7 separate regions of the Homo sapiens genome follow, and all the other regions are linked to region 5. The links are contacts of gene promoters, found by promoter capture Hi-C in blood cells and fetal thymus (Javierre and others, 2016). All regions are on one chromosome and are shown on one strand. Each heading gives the region's core, a stretch centred on a gene start or on the middle of the fragment in contact. The rest is flanking DNA. Distances are from core to core; before and after follow the strand shown. Region 1 has its middle 11 kb from the start of TIPRL. Region 2 overlaps SFT2D2 (SFT2 domain containing 2). Region 3 overlaps TIPRL (TOR signaling pathway regulator). Region 4 overlaps PRRC2C (proline rich coiled-coil 2C). Region 5 holds the start of METTL18 (methyltransferase 18, RPL3 N3(tau)-histidine). Region 6 has its middle 2.1 kb from the start of VAMP4. Region 7 overlaps MPC2 (mitochondrial pyruvate carrier 2).

What was found. Contacts are between HindIII fragments. The CHiCAGO score rates a contact against its expected background, and 5 or more counts as called.
Region 1: a contact is called between a fragment that was not itself captured here and the fragment with the promoter of METTL18 in region 5, in 1 of 17 cell types (total CD8 T cells). The highest score is 5.8, in total CD8 T cells.
Region 2: a fragment that was not itself captured here is called in contact with the fragment with the promoter of METTL18 in region 5 in 3 of 17 cell types (naive CD8 T cells, total CD8 T cells and non-activated CD4 T cells); the score reaches 6.4 in naive CD8 T cells.
Region 3: a fragment that was not itself captured here is called in contact with the fragment with the promoter of METTL18 in region 5 in 1 of 17 cell types (naive CD8 T cells); the score reaches 5.3 in naive CD8 T cells.
Region 4: a fragment that was not itself captured here is called in contact with the fragment with the promoter of METTL18 in region 5 in 2 of 17 cell types (non-activated CD4 T cells and total CD4 T cells); the score reaches 5.4 in non-activated CD4 T cells.
Region 6: a contact is called between a fragment that was not itself captured here and the fragment with the promoter of METTL18 in region 5, in 1 of 17 cell types (non-activated CD4 T cells). The highest score is 6.6, in non-activated CD4 T cells.
Region 7: a fragment that was not itself captured here is called in contact with the fragment with the promoter of METTL18 in region 5 in 2 of 17 cell types (total CD8 T cells and naive CD8 T cells); the score reaches 5.2 in total CD8 T cells.

Annotation. Positions count from the first base shown.
Region 1 is chr1:168,166,774-168,169,826 of GRCh38, forward strand. No RefSeq gene overlaps it. Among named protein-coding and RNA genes, the nearest start is that of TIPRL, 11 kb to the right of the region's middle. The HindIII fragment of the contact is 410 bases long and covers 1,334-1,743 here.
Region 2 is chr1:168,230,078-168,233,201 of GRCh38, forward strand. It overlaps SFT2D2 (SFT2 domain containing 2), which reads left to right. Exons shown (of 8, transcript NM_199344.3): 2 at 1,437-1,523; 3 at 1,757-1,842. Among named protein-coding and RNA genes, the nearest start is that of SFT2D2, 5.6 kb to the left of the region's middle. The HindIII fragment of the contact is 3,164 bases long and covers 60-3,124 here.
Region 3 is chr1:168,183,303-168,186,595 of GRCh38, forward strand. It overlaps TIPRL (TOR signaling pathway regulator), which reads left to right. Exons shown (of 7, transcript NM_152902.5): 2 at 600-779; 3 at 1,477-1,576. Among named protein-coding and RNA genes, the nearest start is that of TIPRL, 6.0 kb to the left of the region's middle. The HindIII fragment of the contact is 4,693 bases long and covers 1-3,293 here.
Region 4 is chr1:171,495,282-171,498,506 of GRCh38, forward strand. All of the region lies in intron 1 of PRRC2C (proline rich coiled-coil 2C), which reads left to right. Among named protein-coding and RNA genes, the nearest start is that of PRRC2C, 11 kb to the left of the region's middle. The HindIII fragment of the contact is 4,223 bases long and covers 1-3,225 here.
Region 5 is chr1:169,793,652-169,796,862 of GRCh38, forward strand. It overlaps METTL18 (methyltransferase 18, RPL3 N3(tau)-histidine), which reads right to left and starts at 1,256. Exons shown (of 2, transcript NM_033418.4): 1 at 1,164-1,256; 2 at 1-246. The coding sequence starts at 44. FIRRM (FIGNL1 interacting regulator of recombination and mitosis) reads left to right here and starts at 1,389. Exons shown (of 25, transcript NM_001320047.2): 1 at 1,389-1,464; 2 at 2,178-2,332. RefSeq lists an enhancer at 989-1,308. The HindIII fragment of the contact is 2,103 bases long and covers 603-2,705 here.
Region 6 is chr1:171,742,727-171,745,651 of GRCh38, forward strand. No RefSeq gene overlaps it. Among named protein-coding and RNA genes, the nearest start is that of VAMP4, 2.1 kb to the left of the region's middle. The HindIII fragment of the contact is 2,003 bases long and covers 610-2,612 here.
Region 7 is chr1:167,928,465-167,931,748 of GRCh38, forward strand. The region is part of intron 2 of MPC2 (mitochondrial pyruvate carrier 2); the gene reads right to left. It also overlaps a transcript of DCAF6 not described here. Among named protein-coding and RNA genes, the nearest start is that of DCAF6, 6.6 kb to the right of the region's middle. The HindIII fragment of the contact is 4,869 bases long and covers 1-3,284 here.

The sequences.
Region 1 (3,053 bases), core at 289-2,788, 1.6 Mb before region 5:
GAACCTAGGCAGCCTAACTCCATATCCCTGGTGCTTAGCCACTTAAATCCCTCCCCTATTGTATTAGTCATGGTTCTCTAGAGGGACAGAACTAATAGGATATATACACACACACACACACACACACACACACATATATGTGTGTGTGTGGGATATATATATATGCTGGGATATATAGATATATATGAATATATATGCTGGGATATATATATATCTATATATATCTCTAGAGAGATATATATATATATATATAGATATATATATAGGAGTTTATTAGGTATTAACTCACATGATCACAAGGTCCCACAATAGGCCATCTGCAAGCTGAGAAGCAAGGAGAGCCAGTCTGAGTCCCAAAACTGAGGAACTTGGAATCTGATGTTTGAGGGCAGGAAGCATCCAGCATGGGAGAAAGATGTAGGCTGGGAGGCTAGGCCGGTGTAGTCTTTCCACGTTTTTCTGCCCGCTTTATATTCTGCCCACCCAGATTAAGGGTGGGTTTGCCTTTCCCAGCCCACTGACTCAAATGTTAATCTCCCTTAGCAACACCCTCACAGACACACCCAGGGCAATACTTTGCATCCTTCAATCCAATCAAGTTGATACTCAGTATTAACCATCACACCTGTTTAGACTTTTCCCATTTCTTTTTTTTTTTTTTCTTTTTTGAGACGGAGTCTCACTCTGTCACCCAGGCTGGAGTGCAATGATGCAATCTCAGCTCACTGCAACCTCTGCCTGCCAGGTTCAAGTGATTCTCCTGTCTCAGCCTCCCAAGTAGCTTGGATTTTCTCCTGTCTTGGCCTCCCAAGTAGCTGGGATTACAGGCGCACACCACCGTGCCTAGCTAACTTTTGTATTTTTAGTAGAGATGGGGTTTTACCATGTTGGCCAGGCTGGTCTCAAACTCCTAACCTCAAGTGATCGGTCCGCCTCCACCTCCCAAATTGCTGGGATTACAGGAGTGAGCCACAGCCAACTTTTCCCATTTCAAGTGAAGAATCCACTTGCCAAAGCCTAATTTTTTCTTCTCTGCTCAGCTTGCTCTGATTGATCTCATCCCATGATAGCAATACCCCATTGGGACCTTTTCCTTGGGACCTTTCCTTCCCCTTCTTTCCCTTCCATTCCTTTCCCTATCAGTCATGGAACTCACACTGCAGTGATAGGCCTCTGCTTCCAGGCCCACAGCTAACTTCGGCAATAACAGCCTCCTGCTTTTGCTCACCAGGAGAGAGGCCTGACACCACTTGGGAATCCACTTAGATCTCAGCCCTCATCTTCCTTTATCCTCCCTCTACCAGCTCGTTCCTATCACCAGGGGTTGAACTTAAGCTTATGATTTCAGAAAGACTGTGTTTGCCCATTCAAATTCCTTGCATGTAAACTGCTTCAGTTTCTTTTACCCTTTTTCTCCTTCCCAAAATAAGCAGGGAAAAGAAAGAAAAATATTTTGACCATACAACATTGCTGGACAGAAAGAGCATGAATTCCTATTATAGTTCTGCTTGGTTTTGTTTTATTCTTTGTTTCCCTGGTAGCTATCTTAGAAATTTCTGGTTCACCTGCTTCATTTCTATCTTCAGAAATTAGGATGAAATAATTCCCGTAGTGATATTTTGCTCATCTCCTAAAGTTTTATAGCTTGGCATTTTGGTAACCTCAATTAAAGTACACACATACAAAAATCTATCCTGTACTAAAGTTTATTGCTATGAAAGACATTTTTAAATGTCTAATGCAAGCTTGTCCAACCCATGGCACTCAGGCCACATGTGGATGAGCCAGGATGGCTCTGAATGCAGCCCAACACAAATTCATAAACTTTCTTAAAACATTACATTATGAGACTTATGCACAGATTTTTTTTTTTTTTTTTGCTCATCAGCTATCATTAGTGTATTTTATGTGTGGCCCAAGACAATTCTTCTTCTAATGTGGCCCAGGGAAGTCAAAAGATTGGACACCCCTGGTCTAATGTCTTACAAGAAATTATCTAGTGATTTTCTCACAACCTTAAAAGTAACATTTGAATCAAGCTCTTTTATATGTTTATATTTTCCTGAGTACCCGAATGAATGCCCATTTACACTAAAACAACACCAGTTTTCTTTTTTTGTTTGTTTGAGACAGAGTCTTGCTCTGTCGCCCAGGCTGGAGCGCAGTGGCGCGATCTCAGCTCACACTACAAGCTCTCCGCCTCCTGGGTTCACGCCATTCTCCTGCCTCAGTCTCCCCAGTAGCTGGGACTACAGGCACCTGCCACCAACAACACCAGTTTTCTATAAAGTGGACACAGTTACTTCAATAGTTAACACTAATTATGGTAACATGATATAGTGCAGCTGTTTCCCTTTATAAATGATTCTCAAATAAACCTATTTACTCATGTTCCATTAGCTGGGTTTTTTTTTTAATTTTTGTATGAGACAGAGTCTCGCTCTGTTGCCCAGGCTGGAGTGCAGTGGCGCAATCCCGGCTCCCTGCAACCTCTGCCTCCAGGGTTCAAGCGATATTTGTGCCTCAGCCTCCGAAGTAGCTGGGACTATAGGCATGCACCACCACACCCGGCTAATTTTTTTTTTTTTTTTGTATTTTTAGTTGAAACGGGGTTTTGCCATGTTGGCCAGGCTGGTCTTGAACTCCTGACCTCAGGTGATCTGCCCACATTGGCCTCCCAAAGTGCTGGGATTACAGGCATGAGCCACTGCGACTGGCCCCATCAGCTCTTTTTGCCACTTTGCATGCCATACACTTAAATCTATCCTGACAATGTGTACATGTATTATATATATATATATATATATATATGTATATATATATACATATATATACATATATATATGACAGAGCATTAAAATGTTTATGTAATGAAAACTTTGCCAAAAAATAACATCAAAGACAAAAATCAATAGAAACAATTCTATTGATTTCCAAGATGATCCACTATAACCCAGCTGAGTGCTCTGAGAGAACTAATTACAGCATAAGCTGGGGACCACTATGACAATGGCCACATGGTGGGTGCTGATCCGCTCTCCAGACAGCTGAAA
Region 2 (3,124 bases), core at 392-2,891, 1.6 Mb before region 5:
TAAGGTAGTCTTTGGCAATACGTGCCACACCTGAGGGGAGCCTCTCATCCTTCTTTTCAAGCTTCTGGTTTGACGGGAACTCTGGAGACAGGGTTGAAAACAGATCCCTGAGCTGGGGGTAGTCAAGGCTGACGGAGTTGCCAGTCTAATGACTCTTGACTTTCTGCCACTACCTACCTTCTTCCATCAGCTGGGTGGAAATATAGTAGGAAACTTTGACCACATTGCTAGATGGAGACTATGCTGGCCATACAAGGTGAGCCCTGTGTGAATATACATGGCCTAGCTGCCCTGTGTGGTGTTGGTCTCTTACGGCAGCTGTCTTTGTCCAGCTTGGAACAACTGTTCCCACTTGCATCAGGTGGACAGACTGGTAGGGTCACCAGTGCAAAAACTTTGATGTCATTTTTTTCCGAGACAGAGTTACACTCTTGTTGCCCAGGCTGGAGTACAATGTATGATCTCGGCTCACTGCAACCTCCACCTCCCAGGTTCAAGCAATTCTCCTGCCTCAGCCTTCCAAGTAGCAGGGATTACAGGCATGCACCACCACACCTGGCTAATTTTTTGTATTTTTAGTAGAGACAAGGTTTCGCCATGTTGGTCAGGCTGGTCTCGAACTCCTGACCTCAGGTGATGCGCCCACCTTGGTCTCCCAAGGTGCTGGGATTACAGGCATGAGCCACTGTGCCTGGCTGTTGTCATTTTTGACATGGGAAAAGAACCACTGGGAGCTACTCACAGGCTCTCCTGTTTCAGTAGTGTTTTTGGAACTCCTGGCTTCCCCTGAACTTTGCTCCAGGGAGGGATTAATCATGATGGCAAAGACTCAGGATGTAACAGGACAGTAATTAATTAACCAGGATCTGTCTCCCACTTGGATGAGTTGGCTGATGCCAGCATCCTGTAAGTACAATATCTGAACCAAGAGTGAATAATGTGGGTGAGAGTTGATGTAGGAGACGATGACCAGTGGAGCAGCTGCTTGAGTGCCGTCCCCTCATCTTTTCCTTATTTCCTGGGACCCTGCCTGGTGGAGGATCCCAGGTGGACTTGTGAGTCCCTGGTGGACGCATGCCTTTCCAGGTGTGGTCTTCATCCTGCCTGGGTTGTAGGAAGGCTCTGGGCTACTCTAGGATTGGCTGTCTTGCCTTCCTGTTCTTGAAATGGGTTGTGCTTGAGGCAAGGAGTTTCTACCTCTGAAGATGTTCAGCTGGAGGCACAGCTGTCAGCTGCTAGAGAGGAGATTCATGTCTGCATAATAACTTTACAGCTCTGATAAAGTCTGGATTTGATGACTTACATCGCCTGAGTGTGTAGGATTCTGTGCTCCTTGCCTTCCCTAATACAACTTAACACTTTCTAGATTTAGTTATGTGCTTGCTTTGTTTTTAGTAAATGTGTGTGTATATGTATTTTTTTTTTTTCAATTTTAGGTTGTTGAGGCATCTTCATTAAGCTGGAGTACCAGGATAAAAGGCTTCATTGCGTGTTTTGCTATAGGAATTCTCTGCTCACTGCTGGTAAGATTTCCCTTCCTCCTCTGTCTTTTCCTTCTACCTGTCTTTGCTATATATTCCCCCTTTTGTCCACCTCCTTTCCCCTTTTGCCCTTCACTAAAATGCATGGATGAGAGGAGAGGGGAATAAGGGAGGTGGGGAGGGAAACGGACTCCTCAGGGCTTCCTCTGGGAGCTCTGCTTGTGTGGCCGGGTGGGAGGGTTGCTCATGTGCAAACACTGTACTTTAAATTCCAGGGTACTGTTCTGCTGTGGGTGCCCAGGAAGGGACTACACCTCTTCGCAGTGTTTTATACCTTTGGTAATATCGCATCAATTGGGAGGTAACTGTTTTTTAAAAATCCAATTTTAGCCAATCATTAGATGGGAAAATGGATGTTGGTTGCCCTTGAGGGAGGTGAAAGAGGAGGCTCCAGTAGTTGTAAGGAATTTGGAGAGAAGTAGTTAGAATATCTCACATTCATATCTTATTATTTGAAAACATTTTATATCTTAGTTTGAAACACCTGGGAGAAAGCAGCAAATGTTTTGCCATCGTGATTTTACATGTACAGAAACTGCGACACAAAGCAGTTCAGTGATTTCTCCAGGGTTTACAACCCAGTCCTCCTGCTTGCTGTATTCTTACTGCTGTCAGAGATTGAGTTGATGGTTTTCAAAGGGCTCATCACTCCAGTGGCCATAAGGGAAACTGGTTTTTATTTAGTGTCAGACCTTCCCAGACCTGAGTAGCAGCTCATGTGGGCAGGGCATCTGAGCGCTTCCTGGAGGTGGGCAGCCCATTCTGCATGTTGTGGATGCACACATTTTCCAGGTCAAGCTCATTCACACTGATGCTTCAGTCACACTGGTGCCAACAACTCCACCCTCTCCAACTGGGAGCACTGGCCTGGCCTCTACCTGAATGACCTGCAGGAACCTGAGCTCAGTCATCTTGTTTCCCCCTTTTCCCTTCCCTTGTGTCTCTGTAAATGGCTTCAGAGTCCTGGGGGTCCAAGTCTCCCCTCCATGATTCCTCACCAGGGCTTGATGTAACCCTGTCTTACTGGCTCCTTCCTCTTTGTCCCCATGGCTGTTTGTGCTTCACTGACTGACTTGCATGCTCAATGGGTAAGCATTGATCACACTCTGTGCTGGGCTCAGAGGATACAAAGACAAGTCCAGTTTGGTCCCTGCCAGGCAGACAGACATATAACTCATGATATAACAAGATATGGAAAGAAATTCTCAAGGAGGGGCAGCCGACACGACCTGAGTCAGGGAGGGCTTCCTAGAGAAGGTGATATCTGAGCTGGCCTTAGCTTTGGCCTGTTATCACCCTTACCTGAGCAAGATGCATCTGCTTGGTCTCTCTGTCTCCTCCATTGCCCCTCTCAAGGCCATTTTCCACTGAGCTGTAGAGCCATTCGTTTATAGCCCTGCTTAGCCCCCTCAAGTGGCCCCCTGTTTTGTCTGTACAAATGAAGTCCAAATTCCTCAGCACGCATACAGTCAAGCGTCTTTGAGATCTGGCTTCACCGTTGTCCCATTCCCTATCCAGTGTGCTTCCCAGCCAGGCTGAACTTCTTGCATTTCCCAAAATGCCGTTGTGCCCTTGTTTGGTTG
Region 3 (3,293 bases), core at 106-2,605, 1.6 Mb before region 5:
ATTATTCTTTAGTACAGGTATTCTAAAACTGATACTTTGGGTCATAAGTGTGTAAATTATGTTAAATTCCTGTGATTTTTTTTTTTTTTTGCTTGATTGTTGCCCCAGGGTGAAATGTAAATTGACACAATCCTTCTGAAAGTCTGTGTAGGCAAGTGCTGAGTTCCCTCATCAGTGTCAGGTGCTTTTGCTTTTTTCATCACCACGTTTTGAAACTTTTAACAATTGAGAATTTTAATGGAAAAATTATTTTCCTACAAGAGACAGTATCTTTAATTGCTTTGCTATCTTTTCTTCATACCCTCATGATATATATTATAGTAATATCTGTGTGCTATATATTATAGTAGTATAATAAGCTATTATATTACGTATTTGTATATTTATCTTATTTAGCCCACTACTTAGTACAGTGCCATATGATGATGAAAGAATGGATGATGAAAGCATTTTATAGACCTTGCAAATATATCATATTGATTAAATCATGTGCTGTGTAACTCATTCAGCAAGTAGGAAGAATTCTGTTGGGATGGAAAAGAAACAAAAATGCCAACAGCGATATAAAATTATCTCACCCGACTTTTGGTTACGTATAGATTAGCCGATGAATTACATATGCCATCTCTCCCTGAAATGATGTTTGGAGACAACGTTTTAAGAATCCAGCATGGGTCTGGCTTTGGAATTGAGTTCAATGCTACAGATGCGTTAAGATGTGTAAACAACTACCAAGGAATGCTTAAAGTGGCCTGTGCTGAAGAGTGGCAAGAAAGCAGGTGAGAATCCGGTCAATTAGGTTAAACAAAAAAGGTAATTAGGTTAAACAAAAGAGAAAAGACTTGAAAAAATATTCAGTAATGATACGTGTGTGTTGTTAGAATGAAGGGCTGGTATTATTAAACTTGAGAGTTGTATCATTCTAGAATTCGTTTTTCTCAGACATAAAAATGGAAGTTAATTACCCCACTGCTTGAATACTTGTTAAAGTGAATTACAACTGAGCTGAGCTATGTACGTTTTCGATTTTTCAGTGTTCCTTACTGAAGAGGCAGTAGGCTATACTTAATGTTCCTGTTTTTAAGAAAAAATGTTTACTTATGATATGCTTAATAAATACCCTATTTGAGAAGCATTGAAATTAAGACAACATGTTTTTCTTTGATAGTCAAATCAGCAATTATTTACTTTGTGCCTAATATGTACTAAGTACCTTAGATGATACAAATAAGTATAAACCTTTAAACCATGTCCTCAGGCTGTATACAGACTAATTGAAAAGACTACATCAGTACATGACAAGTTAAATAATAAATGCAGAAAAACTGTAAGAAAAACCTTGTACTGGTGAATTATAACAAGTGTATATATTTAATAGGATATGTTATTATAGAATATAATTTGATGTGATATATAAATACAGATAATCTCTATTCTGCATCACTGAATCTGATCCTTCTCATTTTGGTATTTGAGGACGGAGGGTGAACACTCCAAAGAGGTTATTAAACCATATGATTGGACCTATACAACAGATTATAAGGGAACCTTACTTGGAGAATCTCTTAAGTTAAAGGTAAATCTTACTTTTTTCTTTCATGAGTCATTGATTGTCTTGGACAGTCTGAGCATTAGAACTTTCTAGTAACGGGTTATTTTTTGCAACTATTTTTATCGTCCTTGTTTTCTGTTGTGGCATTCCTCAGAACCTAATGTGAGGGGGTTTTGCTTGTTGACTTATCAGTAGAAAATAAAAGACGGCATTAGTGGAAAAATTTATTTTTAAAAGTGTAGTTGGTGGCAACGGCAGACGGCCTTGTTGTTATCATTATCACTATCAAGAAACATTAAAATGTGTTTCGGGCCTTGGTAATGTATTACATGATTTAGACAGAACCTGCTAGCTTGTAGCTCACAAGTTTATAGATGAACAAATATATGAGCAAAAAGAACTTCTGGTTAGACAAAGTAGGTTTATGCCCTGTCTGCCCTGAGTATGAACCTGAAATGACTTTAGGAAGTTACTTAATTTGAGTCTCAGTTTTATCAATAAATTGGGTAAACAGAAATATCTACCTCAAAGCAGAGTTTTGATGTGAAATAATTTATGGGAAGCTCTCAATAAATTCTAAAGCTCTATATTAGTATTAAGTCCTGTGTGTGTAAGCCCTGCTTGAGAAGAGATTGGGGCCAGGCGCAGTGGCTCACGCCTGTAATCCCAGCACTTTGAGAGGCCGAGGCAGGCAGATCACGAGGTCAGGAGCTCGAGACTAGCCTGACCAACATGGTGAAACCCCTTGTCTATTAAAAAAAAAAAATTAGCTGGGTGTGGTGGCGCACACCTGTAATACCAGCTACTCAGGAGGCTGAGGGAGGAGAATTGCTTGAACCCGGGAGGTGGAGGTTGCAGTGGGCCAAGATCGCGCCACTGCACTCCAGCCTGGGTGACAGAGTGAGACTCTGTCTCAAAAAAAAAAAAAAAGAAGAGATTCGGCCAGGTGCAGTGGCTCACGCCTGTAATCCCAGCACTTTGGGAGGCCAAAGTGGGTGGATCATGAAGTCAGGAGTTCAACACCAGCCTGGTCAACATGGTGAAACCCCATCTCTACTAAAAATACAAAATTTAGCCAGGCATGGTGGAGCATGCCTGTAGTCCCAGCTACTCGGGAGGCTGAGGCAGGAGAATTGCTTGAACCCGGGAGGCAGAGGTTGCAGTGAGCTGAGATCACACTACTGCACTCCAGCCTGGGCGACAGAGCGAGACTCCGTCTCAAAAAAAAAAAAAAAAAAAAAAAAAAAAAGAGAGAGATTCATGGTAAATAACGCTAGGAAGATGGAATTGGTAGGTCTTATATTGTGAAGTTAGCTGCATTTTGAAATCTTATAGTATGACTGAAAGGAAGCAAATCTGGGCTGGGCTCAATGGCTCACGCCTGTAATCCCAGCACTTTGCGAGGCCAAGGAGGGCAGATTACTTGAGGTCAGGAGTTCGAGACCAGCTTGGCCAACATAGTGAGACCGCACCTCTACTAAAAATGTAAAAATTAGCCAGGCCTGGTGGCGTGTGTCTGTAATCCCAGCTACTTGGGAGGTTGAGGCAGGAGAATCACTTGAACCCAGGAGGTAGAGGTTGCAGTGATCCGAGATCACGCCACTGCACTCTAGCCTGGGCAACAGAGAAAGGCTCTGTTTCAGAAAAACAATAAGTAAAATAAAATAAAGCAAATTTGGTTTAGGTTGAATGTCTCTAAATATCACAGACTATTATATAGAATGAATTTATTTCAGCGTAA
Region 4 (3,225 bases), core at 473-2,972, 1.7 Mb after region 5:
TTTATGAAATCCAGTTTCTGAACTGTTAATATGACTGTATAACTAATTGTTTAATTCTGCCTAGCATTCTAAGACCTTTAAAAATCTTGGTCATGGAATACATTGGTACTCCTTCAGATGTATATATTATTTCATATGCCATGTTTACTTTCCAAGTCTTTATTCAAGTTATTGACATGGAAAAGGACAGGGTCCAACATATCCAGGCCAAATTATTTCATATTGACCACATTCTTTTAAATATAAAATGATTTTCTACTTCAAACATTGTGTGATTCTCATTTGTATTAAGTTTATTTAAGGAGAAGTATGTAAATGACTAGTACTTTCAGTAGTCTTAAAAAATCAAGTGGATTGAGGGAAGGAAGTGACTAAATTTTTTTAAGGTTTATATTTTGTGGATGCTGATTCACTTGGAACTAGGAGTGTGGTGAATATTTGGGCTTTTTTATTTTAAATGGGCAATTTAGTTAAAATTTGAGTGATAAAATTCTGGTTTTTGAAGTTAATGCATCAGTCTCCCCTCATCATAGTTCAGGCTGCCATAACAAAATAGTATAGACTGGATGGCTTAAAAAACAGAAATTTATTTCTGACAGTTTTGGAGGCTGGAAGTCTGAGATCAGGGTGCCAGCATAGTAGTTCTGGTGAGGGCTCTTCCTAGCTTGCACACAGCCACCTTCTGACTGTATTCTCTAATGGAGAAGAGAGCAAGCTCTGGTATCTCTTTTTATAAGGACACTAATCCCCTCATGGCCCGTACAACCTCATCTAAATCTAATTACCTCACCAAGGCCCCATCTCCAAATATCAGCCCAGGGGATTTAGGGATTCAACATATGAATGTCAGGGGGGCACCCATCAGTCCATCAGCACCCCTGCCCCCTTTACGATTTTTAGAGCTTTGATTTTTGTGCCTTTTTTTTTTTTTTTTTTTTTTTTGCAGGGTCTCCCCCTGTTGCCCTGGCTGGAGTACAGTGGTGCTATCTTGGCTCACTACAGCCTCTGCCTCCCGGGTGCAAGCGATTCTCTTGCCTCAGCCTCCCTAGTAGCTGAGACTACAGGTGCACGCCACCACACCCAGCTAATTTTTGTATTTTTAGTAGAGATGGTATTTTGCCATGTTGGCCAGGCTGGTCTGGAAGTCCTGACCTCAAGTGATCCACCTGCCTTGGCCTCCCAGAGTGCTAGGATTACAGATGTGAGCCACTGCGCCTGGCCTGATTCTTGTTTTTTACAAGTTACAAAAATAATACAAAGAATTACCATATTCCTTCATTCAGATTCCCCACTTGTTAATATTTTACCATATTTACTTTATTATTTTCTGTATAGTATGCACATAGGCACACACATGCACTCTGTGCTTGGTTTTTAATGGCTGCTGTCTAAACCCTGTCATCACCAGAAACTTTAAATTTATTTCACAAGCTCTTATTCCTTACTTGTATTACAAAATGACATTTCTAGCAGCAAATCGATACATTTGGGGCGTGTGTGTGTGTGTGTGTGTGTGTGTGTGTGTGTGTGTTTTGTTTTGACAAGGTCTCACTCTGTTACCCAGGCTAGAGTGCAGTGGTGCAATCATTGGCTCACTGTAGCCTCAACCTCCCAGGCTCAAGCGATCCTCCTGCTTCAATCTCCTGGTTGGGACCACACGCATGTGCCACCACACCTGGCTATTTTTTTGGTAGAGACAAGGTCTCTCCATGTTGCTCAGGCTGGTCTCAAACTCCATTGCTCAAGCTATCCTCCCACCTCTGCCTCCCAGAGTGCTGGGATTACAAGCATGAGCCACCATGCCCCACCAATACATTTGTTAATAGAGATGTTGCTATGTTTTGTTGCTATTGTGTTTTATCTTTGATATCTTATTCTATATTGTAATGCAGTATGTTTGATAATGAAAACATGAATCATTTAGGGTCTCTTAAGTGACATTTATTGTTTTATATTTCAGTTTGTTAATTTCTCAAAATGAAAGTTCAATCCTGATTTTTTAAATAATGAGATTATGTTGGGCACTGGCTTTGAAGTCAGCCTGGATTTAATCTTGACTCTACCACTTTCCAGCTCTGTGTGTTTTGAGCAAATTACTTTACTTCTCTAAGATTGCTTCTTCATTGGTAATTTTCAGTGATTTAGGCTTTAAGCCCTTCTTAGTCCTAATCTGGTTTTTATTTTTATTTTTATTTATTTATTTTGAGACAGGGTCTTACTCTGTCTATTGCCGAGGCTGTAATACAGTGGCACAGTCATGGCTCACTGTAGCCTCAACCTCCTAGGCTCAAGCGATCCTTCTGTCTCAGTCTCCTGAGCATCTGGGAGACAGGCATGTGCCACCAGGCCTGGCTAAATTTTATTTTTTGTAGAGATGAGGTCTCACCATGTTACCCAGATTGGTCTTGAACTCCTGGGCTCAAGTGGTCCTCCCACCTTCGCCTTTCAAAGTGCTGGTATTACAGGTGTAAGCCACTGCGCGTGGCCCTAATCGGGTATTTTTACGTTATACTATATCTTTGGAGCTCAGATTTTGGTGGGGCAGTGGGGGGATACAAGGTCTCCTTTTGTCCCCCAGGCTGGAGTGCAGTGGCACAATCATGGCTCACTGTAGCCTCAACCTCCTAGGCTCCAGTGAGCCTCCCATCTTGGCCTGCCAAGTAGCTGGGACTACAGGCATGAGCCACCATACCCAGCTAATTTTTTTTTTTTTTTTTTTTTTTTAAGAAAAGACAAAGTCTTGCTGTGTTGCCCAGGCTGGTCTTGAACTCCTGAGCTCAAGCCATCCTTCCGCCTCGGCTTCCGAAATTCCTGGAATTACAGGCATGAGCCACTATGCCCTGCCAATAATTACTATTTTATTGCTAGAGCTTTTAGTCAACCTTAACTGAAATCACCAGTCCTTTCTGCTCTCCTCCTCATTCTCTTCTGACTTCCTCTCTTAGTCCATTCATGCTGCTGTAACAAAATGCCTGAGACTGGGTAACTTATAAATAACAGAAATTAATTTCTGTTGGTACTGAAGGCTGGAAAGTCCAAGATCAAGTTATCGACAGGCAGGATCTCCGCCTCCAAGATGGCACCTTGTTCATGTCCTCAGATGACAGAAGTGCATAGCTAGTTCCCTCCAGCCCTTTCATAAGGCACACATCACATCTGTGAGGGCAGAGCCCACATGGCCCAATCACCTCCTAAAGACCCCACCTCTTAAAAGTGTTGCATTGG
Region 5 (3,211 bases), core at 6-2,505:
TTTTCCAGATGGTCTTCTATAGTGAAATTAAACTGAAAGGTCATCCTCTTATTAAATGCACACAATCTTTAAATTCAGATTCTTCAACTTCTGGATAGAATTTGATGATACACACAAATCTGCCTCAATTATTCAATTAGTTTTGTTGGGCCCAATTTCTCTTTAGCAGCTTATACATGGTAACAAATATTTAGAGATATTTCCAAATGACTTTTTAGACGTCTTTGGTCCTCTTTCCAAGCAGCTCTGGAAAGAAAAAAAAAAAAAAAAGAAAGAAAATGATGATTAAAGCAAAATGGCACATTTCACTAAAGTGTAATATTAAACAGCCACCCCCACCCCTCCCTGTCCCACCATACAGCTGCTTTTTCTTAAAAAGTTGTGGGGAAGAGAGAGAGATAAGAGATTTGGACACTCATACACACCTTAAGGGTTCCAAAGTGGGAGAAGAAAATCAACTATAAAAACAAACAGAAGAACAACAGCAACCACCACCACTACCACCTGGACAAACATAAAGTCCAAGATATTCAGACAGGACAGCCTAGCTACTTGCTGTCTTTCAGCTGTCTTGATTTGTGTCCAACCATATTCACCCCCTAAGCTTCCAGAATAACTTCACTTCTGTCTTTTACAGAAGAGGTGCAGTATTTTATTTTGGTAAGTCAGCGTCCCTTTAAAAACATGCATAGGTATGGCCTGGTGTGTGTAAATTCATCCAAGACTTCACTCCAAACATTTAGTCGAGAACAGCAGCCCTAAGTGTATAGAAGTGGGGGTAATTTGGCAATAATTAGTAAAGACTAATTCGGTGGCAGAGCAAACGCAAACTAGGGCACTGCAGTAGTTTGGAGAGACCTGTAGAAATAAGAAGCAACTTTATTGAGAATCTTCTATCTACTGCGCTAGACACTATACCATCTGCCTCAATTTTCACAGTTCTGGCAAGTGGGATCTTTGTTCCCTTTATACAAGATTTACAATTTGGGGGAGAGGCGGGTCACCCAGTCCCGCGGCTAGGAACGCGCCTCTTTCCTCTCCCATCACGCTGCAAGGCTTGGAGTCACTTCCGGCTGCAGGTCCCGGAACAAATCCGACCCCAGAAGTGGGGACTTCTGGCCCTCACCTCCCCATTTGAATGTAATGTTTACAGTGATCCAGACCTGGGGATGCTTGCTTCCCGACGTGTCCTGGGATCGCGCTTCTGAAAAAGCTCACCTCACAACGCCTCCTCCGGACCTAAATCGCGCACCAGTGAGTCGAGTCCTCCAGGGGCTAGAGAAGCCCGACTTTCTTTCCGGCCTTGAGGGACCCGGGCTCACCAAGAAACCAGCCGCCCTCCTCTCTATGGTTTTGGAGCCGGCGGAGAGCGCGCAAGGGTTGGCGGGACTGCGAGTTTCCGGTCTGGGCTTTGGCGGGTCTGGTTTGAAGCTCTCCTGTTTGACGAAAGTATGTCTCAGGAAGGTGCGGTCCCAGCTAGCGCGGTTCCCCTGGAAGAATTAAGTAGCTGGCCAGAGGAGCTATGCCGCCGGGAACTGCCGTCCGTCCTGCCCCGACTCCTCATATCCTTCCTTGGTTGTCACTTCTACCTAGAGAAGGGTGTGGGCGGGTCGCGAACCTTTCTCTTCTGTCCCTTCAGACCCACCGCCAGGCTGGGTTATATTACCGCGGCCTGAACCCCCTCTTTTCTTTGTCAGTGAGTGGGATGAAAAGTGAGGGACTGGAGGGGAAGCGACAACCGTGGTAGATTTAAGTAAGGCTTTGGCCCTGGAAAGCCTCGCGGACGTGTTCTGACCCAAGGTTTTAGCAGTGGATGTGGCGTTTTCTTCCATTCCTTCTTTCAGTTTTTCTGTACTCGTTGCTTGCAATTAAGTGTAAATACTTTTGCTAGTGGATAATGGGGGAGGCAAGGACTGAGACCTGCGGTATGACGATAGCTCTGGCTCTTAATAGTTTGAGGTAAAGCGAGATACTCTGAGCTTTTGTCTCCCGTAAAAAGGGTGGTGAATATGAATAAGGGCTTTCTTAGCGTTATAAGAATTAAAGGGCATAGTTCTGTGGTGTGAAATCTTTAAAAGATGTTCAGTAAATAAAAATGATTTTCCTCCTTCCCCTCTCAGACCTCTTTTTCTTCTTTCTTTCTTTTTTTTTGACAAGTTCTCACTCCTCTCACCCAGGCTGGAGTCTTTCTGAAAGAGTTCTTCCGCTTGTTGTTGGCTTTCAACTGTTGGATTTGAGGCGCTTAGCGCCTTCTTCGTCCGGGTGCAGCACATTCTTGATTGGTCTCATGCCTTTGTGGTTGTAAATGTGCCTGGAATCCTAGCCTTTCATGGTAAACCATATGTATATGTATCTTTTTCACAACATTTGAGCCCAGCTTTATACAATTACACTCAAAAGAAAAAAAGTAACCTTCACTTGAGAGAATCTCAATACTGCACAAATATTGTGCAGCTAAAGCCCTATGTAATCACATAGAAGTCATTCACCTAGGCATTAGCAAAATCTCAGAAGGTGCCAAAGCCCCCTTTTTTAGTTTTTGTGTAGGTACAGAACTGCCGTCTTCAAGGAGTTTCAACTTGAAAACAAATAGCCACCCTCAAAACATTCAAAAACACTTAAACTGCGTGCATAATGTGTGTGAGACATGGTGTTAGGCTTTGGGAGAACAGAGACACGGAACGTGATTCCTCTTCTTCCCCACAAGCTTATAGAGAGACTTCATTAAGTTGAAAGTCAACATTCCCACCTAGCTTTGCACTTCAAACGACATATTCAAAAAAGCCCAAACTTCCTCTAGTTTTCTTCATCTGAGTAAATGGTTTCACAAACTGAAACCTTGAATCCTCTCTGTCTCACACACCCGATCAGTAAGTTCTATTGTTTCTGATTCCAAACTATGTCTTGAATCAATCCGTTTATCTCCATCCTCATTGCTACCACTCTGATTCCAAACCCTTATCACCTCTCACTTGGAGTATTAATAGTTTCCTTGTTTCTACTCATAATTCATTATTCCAAAAAAGTTAAGAGGGGAAAAACATAGATCTCGTCATTTCCCTTTTTAAACCACTTTACCTTCAAGGTTCCAGGTGATCTAAGCCTTGCCCTTCTCTCATACCTAGTTAATTAACTACACTCTGTTCATGAATACATTAGGCTCACCTACCTCAAGATCTTTTTGCTCAGCCTGATTTGTTCTCTCAGCCTT
Region 6 (2,925 bases), core at 361-2,860, 1.9 Mb after region 5:
CTGCCCATTCCTTCCTCACTCCCTCCCCCTCCGCCCAATTTGGTATCATGTTTAGATCTCCACGCCCGCAGTAGCTGTCTACCAGAAACAATTCCTAATTTTGTTTTTCCGTTCTCTTATTTGTTTTATTATCCGTTCCTCCCACGCCCCAGCTGGATTATTTTACTCATTGAATCATATTCACTACACATCTTTTAAAATTAATACAGTATCTATGGGTCCTTTGTTGATACAGTATTTTAACTGTCTGAAATACTGTGCCAGGCACTTTCTAAAGACATAAAAATAAGAGGGGGTGTTCAAGAACAAGAGTAGACAAGAAAACAGCAGGAGGAAAGATCTGCGGACACTAAAGGAAAGGAAAGAATAGACACCCTCTTACCAAAAAGTTGTTCTTCTTTTGTTTGATGTTTATTTTTATGTAAAAATGTACTAACGAATTTGAAAGATGCCATGACTAAGGCAACGATGCTCCACTCTGATTCACTTGGAGTTGAATCACTTGGAAAGCTTTTAAAACTACGTAGGTGCCCACGTGCTACCTAGATTCTGATTTAAATGTTCTGAGATTTAGAAACAGCCGTTGAGTTGTCAGTTGAAGGTTCTGAAAGCTTAATGCTAAACTCAGTTGCCTGTGTTTATTCAGTCCAAGTTGCTGTCCAAGTCAGCAACTTGGACTGAAACGGCCCACTTAGAAGAGAAGCCTCTCATGGTTTGTATCCCTGTCTAGGTGTGATAGTGGGTCTACCCCCAGACTCCACAGGTAACCCTGACATTATTTTTTCTTCTACAGCTGATCTTTTTTTTTTTTTTGAGATGAAGTCTCACTTCTTCCCCCAGGCTGGAGTGCAGTGACACAATCATAGCGCACAGCAGCTCTGAACTCCTGAGCTAAAGTGATCTTCCTGCCTCTGCCTCCCAAGTAGCTGGGATTACAGGCATGAGCAGCTGTGCCCAGCACTTACAGTTGATTTTATGTCTGTATATTTGCATGTTATGGGCTATTTTCTGGCTTTGGTGCCTTAGCCAATTAGAGTTTAGCTAGTTATAGCCTCATCTCTTAGACAACTTAAGGTGTGGTCAGTGAGCTCTAACAGGCACGTCATTGCATAGCTTTTACAGATAATCCATTCTTTGGGTTTTTTTGTTTTTTAAACATAATTCTTTAGTCCTGCCAGTCATTTTGGAATGATCGCTTAGGAGAGGGGTAATGCAAGCCCCACCCTTAATCACCTGAACAAAGTCCCTTTGACTAACCCCAATATTTGTGAAACTTAGAAAATGTCATTTTACAGTTAACATGAATCAAATATACCAGTAAGCCTAAAAGATTATAATAGCACTGAGCTTAGAGTCAGAACTCCAAGCAACTTGAGTTACTTATTTCCTCCATTTTCTTTTTAGTGAGCTTCAGTTATTCAGATGTTAGTCCTCTAATTTTCTTTTCCCCTTTTTCAACATGACACCTTCATCCTTAAGAGGGCCTGCTGTCCTCCTAGCTAGAGAATCAGCGTTTTGCTGTCTTTCAGGACTAAATCTCTGGGTTTTTGATGGGATAGCAAAGGGAATCTCAGCATCTGATTCATTCTTAAACAGACTTTATACCATTCCGCCTGTATTTATAGCTCACATCATGCTCTCTTCAGCTTTACGTGGTGTTTCCAATTCCTGAGCCTTATACAGGGTTTCACTGTGTGTATCAGGTTGCTTCATGGCCTGCTTGGGATTCCTACTTTTCAAGTCTGCTAAGGCAATTGCATCTTGATTCATCTCCCTTCTAGCTTTCAATATTTTGTTGCTAAATGTTCAACATTACTTAAAATGTAAAAGTGAACAAGGAAATACCATTTTTCATCTATCAGTGACTGAGAAAGAAGGAGTTGAGCAGAAGATCTGCAATCCAGTCTCTCCCTTCGTAGGGAAATACTCTCAGGAAAGCAAGGTTAAAGCAAGCAAAAAAGCATGTGATTTTTATAAAATATAAAGTATATACTAATTACAGACCTCCTGGCAAACAAACTAATGGCATTTGCTAGCAAGAGAGTCCATATTTACGGAATTCCTCTAACAGGATGTCCCAGGGCTGGGATTGTTTATGGTAAACACATTAAGAATCGATGTGGTAATTCCAGCACTTTGGGAGGCTGAGGCAGGTGGATCACTTGAGGTCAGGAGTTACCAGCCTGGCCAACATGGCAAAACCCCGTCTCTACCAAAACTACAAAAATTAGCTGAGTGTGGTGGTGTACACTTGTAACACCAGCTACTCAGGAGGCTGAGGCAGAAGAATAGCTTGCACTGGAGATGCGGAGGTTGCAGTGAGCAGAGATCGCGCCACCGCCCTCCATCCTGGTCAACAGAATGAGACTCCCTCTCACAAAACAAAAAAGAATCAATGCGGATTTCAGGGGTATGATTAACTGGAAAATACCGCGGAAGTTATGTAACGTAGCATAAAATGGAAGTGTTTTGTAACTGATTTGGCTCCTTCTGTGTAAGTGGGGTGACTGTACACTTGATTTAGAAACCACATCTACTGTCCTGGGCCAGGATGCATCCAAAGCAAGAAGAAAGGACCTGGGGATTACTGGTATCCTTGAAACTATTAGTAAAGCTTGATACTGAGTAAAATCTCTGATTTGAGCCTGATTTGACAGTTTGATCTTTTGTGTTAGCTCAATAGCAAAAATAAAAAAAATTTGATACTACAATATTGGGTGTGTGTATGTGTGGTATGGGAGCAGCGTGGGAGGAACAAGCATTCTTAAACAGTAAGAGTATAAAAATTGGTGCATTTTTAAAAATTTCATGGTAATTATATGTATCAAAATTTTATATGAAGTTCTTTTTGATCTAATAATTTTACTTCTAAAATTTATCCCATGGGTATACAGGTTGTATATAAAAGTATTCTATAAAAATATC
Region 7 (3,284 bases), core at 359-2,858, 1.9 Mb before region 5:
GGTAAATTTAGACATATATAAAACAGATACAGAGGCTGTCTTCCAGAAAACAGCAATTGATCAACAGTGGATATGGTAGCGAAAAAACATTCCAACTTACTTCAACATTTCTAAACATAAAGTTTTGACAAAACAAAGCATTTAGAAATAGGTATCACTCAAATAGTGACAATACAATGTCACATGTGTCATTCTAGACCTGGAAAACACAGGCTTATGTTCTGTACAATGACACAGCTATTCTCATAGGAGAGCATAAAAATAGATAATTATGACACGTGAAGTGATTATAATACCTTAATATTAGAATAAGCAGAAGTATAAACTAACAGATACCTGGCTAACATCCATTATGATAAATGAAATAACTTGATTAGGTGGAAAATTTGAACTGCTGAAAATATACTGAAGAAAAATCTCCTCATAAGACATTAATTTATAGCCCAAGATGAAAGAAATTGTCCACATCAAACATACTATATATTCTTTTAGAAAAAGAATTAATACATTTTCATCTTGTTTCTTTGAACAGTACTACTGGATGTTGAAGAAGGCCTCCAATGCTGACAATTTAGAAACATTAAACAAGTATTTAAAATGTCTATACATTTAGGCCGGGCGTGGTGGCTCATGCCTGTAATCCCAGCCGTTTGGGAGGCGGAGGTGGGCGGATCACCAGAGGTGGGGAGTTTGAGACTAGCCTGACCAACATGGAGAAACCCCATCTCTACTAAAAATACAAAATTAGCCGGGCGTGGTGGTGCATGCCTGTAATCCCAGCTACTTGGGAAGGTTGAGGCAGGGGAATCGCTAGAACCCAGGAGGCAGAGGTTGCAGTGAGCCGAGATTGCACCATTGCACTCCAGCCTGGGCAATAAGAGCGAAACTCCGTCTCGAAAAAAGAAAAAAAAAAGTCTACACATTTTAAACTATGAACTATGTTCAAGAATGAAAAATACTGACTATAAGTTATTTTGTGTTTTATTGCCTTATTTTTAAAGTGAAACTCATGTTTTTAAATTCTAACTTTTCATAGAATTTGAGAAATTCTACAAGTGAATATCATAAGCAAATAATAACAGACATAAATTTTCAAATAAACAAATTTAGTTGCCTTGAACTTCAATGAACCTATTAATAAACTGACATAAACTTACTTCCTAATTTCCTTATTTGAGAGAAATTACTGTTAATAAAATATTATATGAATCCTACCCAGAAAGTAGGCCACCTATCGTATATATGATTCCCTCCCTAAGTAAAGACTAACTTTTTGGAACAGAATAGGTAATTTTTACTCTCAAGCACATATACACACTTACAAATACTGGATTGAGGTATTCACTATATCCCTCTGTGAAAAATAAAGTTTCTTACTGAATGCTAAGAGGTCATAAAATCACTACATTTCCCTACCTCTTCCCATCCCTTTCATGCCACTCCTTTATGGTTTGTTACTTTTTAACACCCCTCTTAATTCCTTACATTACACAAGTTCACCTGTTTGCTATCATGTGACAAACTAGATACAAATCCTTAGAATATGTAAAGGTTAATCTTTGACATGGATACTGACGGCCAAAAAATCATTCATTTTTATTTGTGCCAAAGCTAGTTCTGATTTAACACTAAGAACATGACTAAGCTACCATTTTAGAGCCATATAATTTTAATATTTTCCACAATGCCTTGGAAATAGCTATCACTAAAATAGTACCCAAAACATCATGGGTAGATAATGTTTTTAAAAATGTTGACTGAAAATACACTTTGGTTTGAAATTCCAGAGTAAAGAACAGGTAAAGAGACTAAAATAGCTAAGATGCATTGTAGGGATGATACGTTTTAAATTTACTTATTTCTTCAGGTACAAAGAATCAGTTACTTTTAGATTTAGAAAGACTGTTGAAATCATCTACTGTAGGCACTCATAAATCAGGCAAATGAGGCCCAGTAAACAAATTACTTGTTTAAAATAAATAATCCAACAAGGATAAAAAACTAGATCCCTAAATCCTAATCTAACAATAATTATATGACTTTCCCCAATGAAATCTGAGTTTCCTGAAGGTTCTGAATGTAAGAAAAGTCCTAAGAGAATACCAAATTATAGATTATTAGCTGGAAAAGACTTTAAGGAAAGTCCAAGCTCCCTCATTTTTATAAATGAAAAAGATGAGGCACTTACAAGTTAAGTAATTTGTCTTACACTCAGGAGAGTTCTGGATAGAGCAACGACTAGAACACAGTTTCTTTGATCCTAGTCCTCTTTCTACTGTACCATACAGCACTTTAAACATATTTCATTCTCTGTTATAAGCAAAATTAATATTTTTACATGACCTGGAAATGATAAACTATTTATAGCTTAGGGCTTTCTTCTCCTTTAGCACATCTGCATAAACAGTTCTAATTTCTTAAAGTTAGTTTAAAAGCAGGATAGCACACAAAAAATATGTTAAGTGTTGAACAACTGCATCAAGGATGATAATCTGCTCTGTTGCCCAGGCTGGATTGAGTGCAGTGGCACGATCTTGGCTCACTGCAACCTCCATCTTCTGGGTTCAAGCAATTCTCCTGCCTCACCCTCCAGAGTAGCTGGGATTACAGGTGTGCACCACCATGCCCAGCTAAATTTCGTATTTTTAGTAGAGACAGGGTATCACCATGTTGGCCAGGCTGGTCTCGAACTCCTGATTTCAGGTGATCCACACGCCTCGGCCTCCCAAAGTGCTGGGATTACAGGTGTGAGCTACCGCGCCCAGCTGATATTCCTTTTTATGAATTCTTCTGAGAATACAAACTCTGTGTGGGTGGGTTTCGTTATTTTATCCACTGCTTTATCCTGAGTGCCAGAACAGTGTCTAATATACAATAGGCCCTCAATAAATATTGAATAATTCAACCTTCTTGGTAGCTGATTGTTTGAAGATATTCTATTTTTCACCAATATTTTACAATTGTATTTGAAATTCTAATCTTACATCTATTTTAGTTATCTCTTAACTTTAAATAAGTTATTACTTTAAAAAATAATATATGTATATTTAGTGTATTTAAACTTAATATATTAAATATACACTTAAGAATATATATGGACATATATTAATATCTTAGACTGGCATTAAGATTCTTCACTGACAATCTGTGGCAACAAAATAAGTTCTAACAGAGATGCTAAAGAACTGTGTAATTCAAACTATGTAGGTACGTACACTCATTATTTGATCCATATTAGATTTTATTTACATATAATAGAACAATATATATTTGCACTAAGTTGT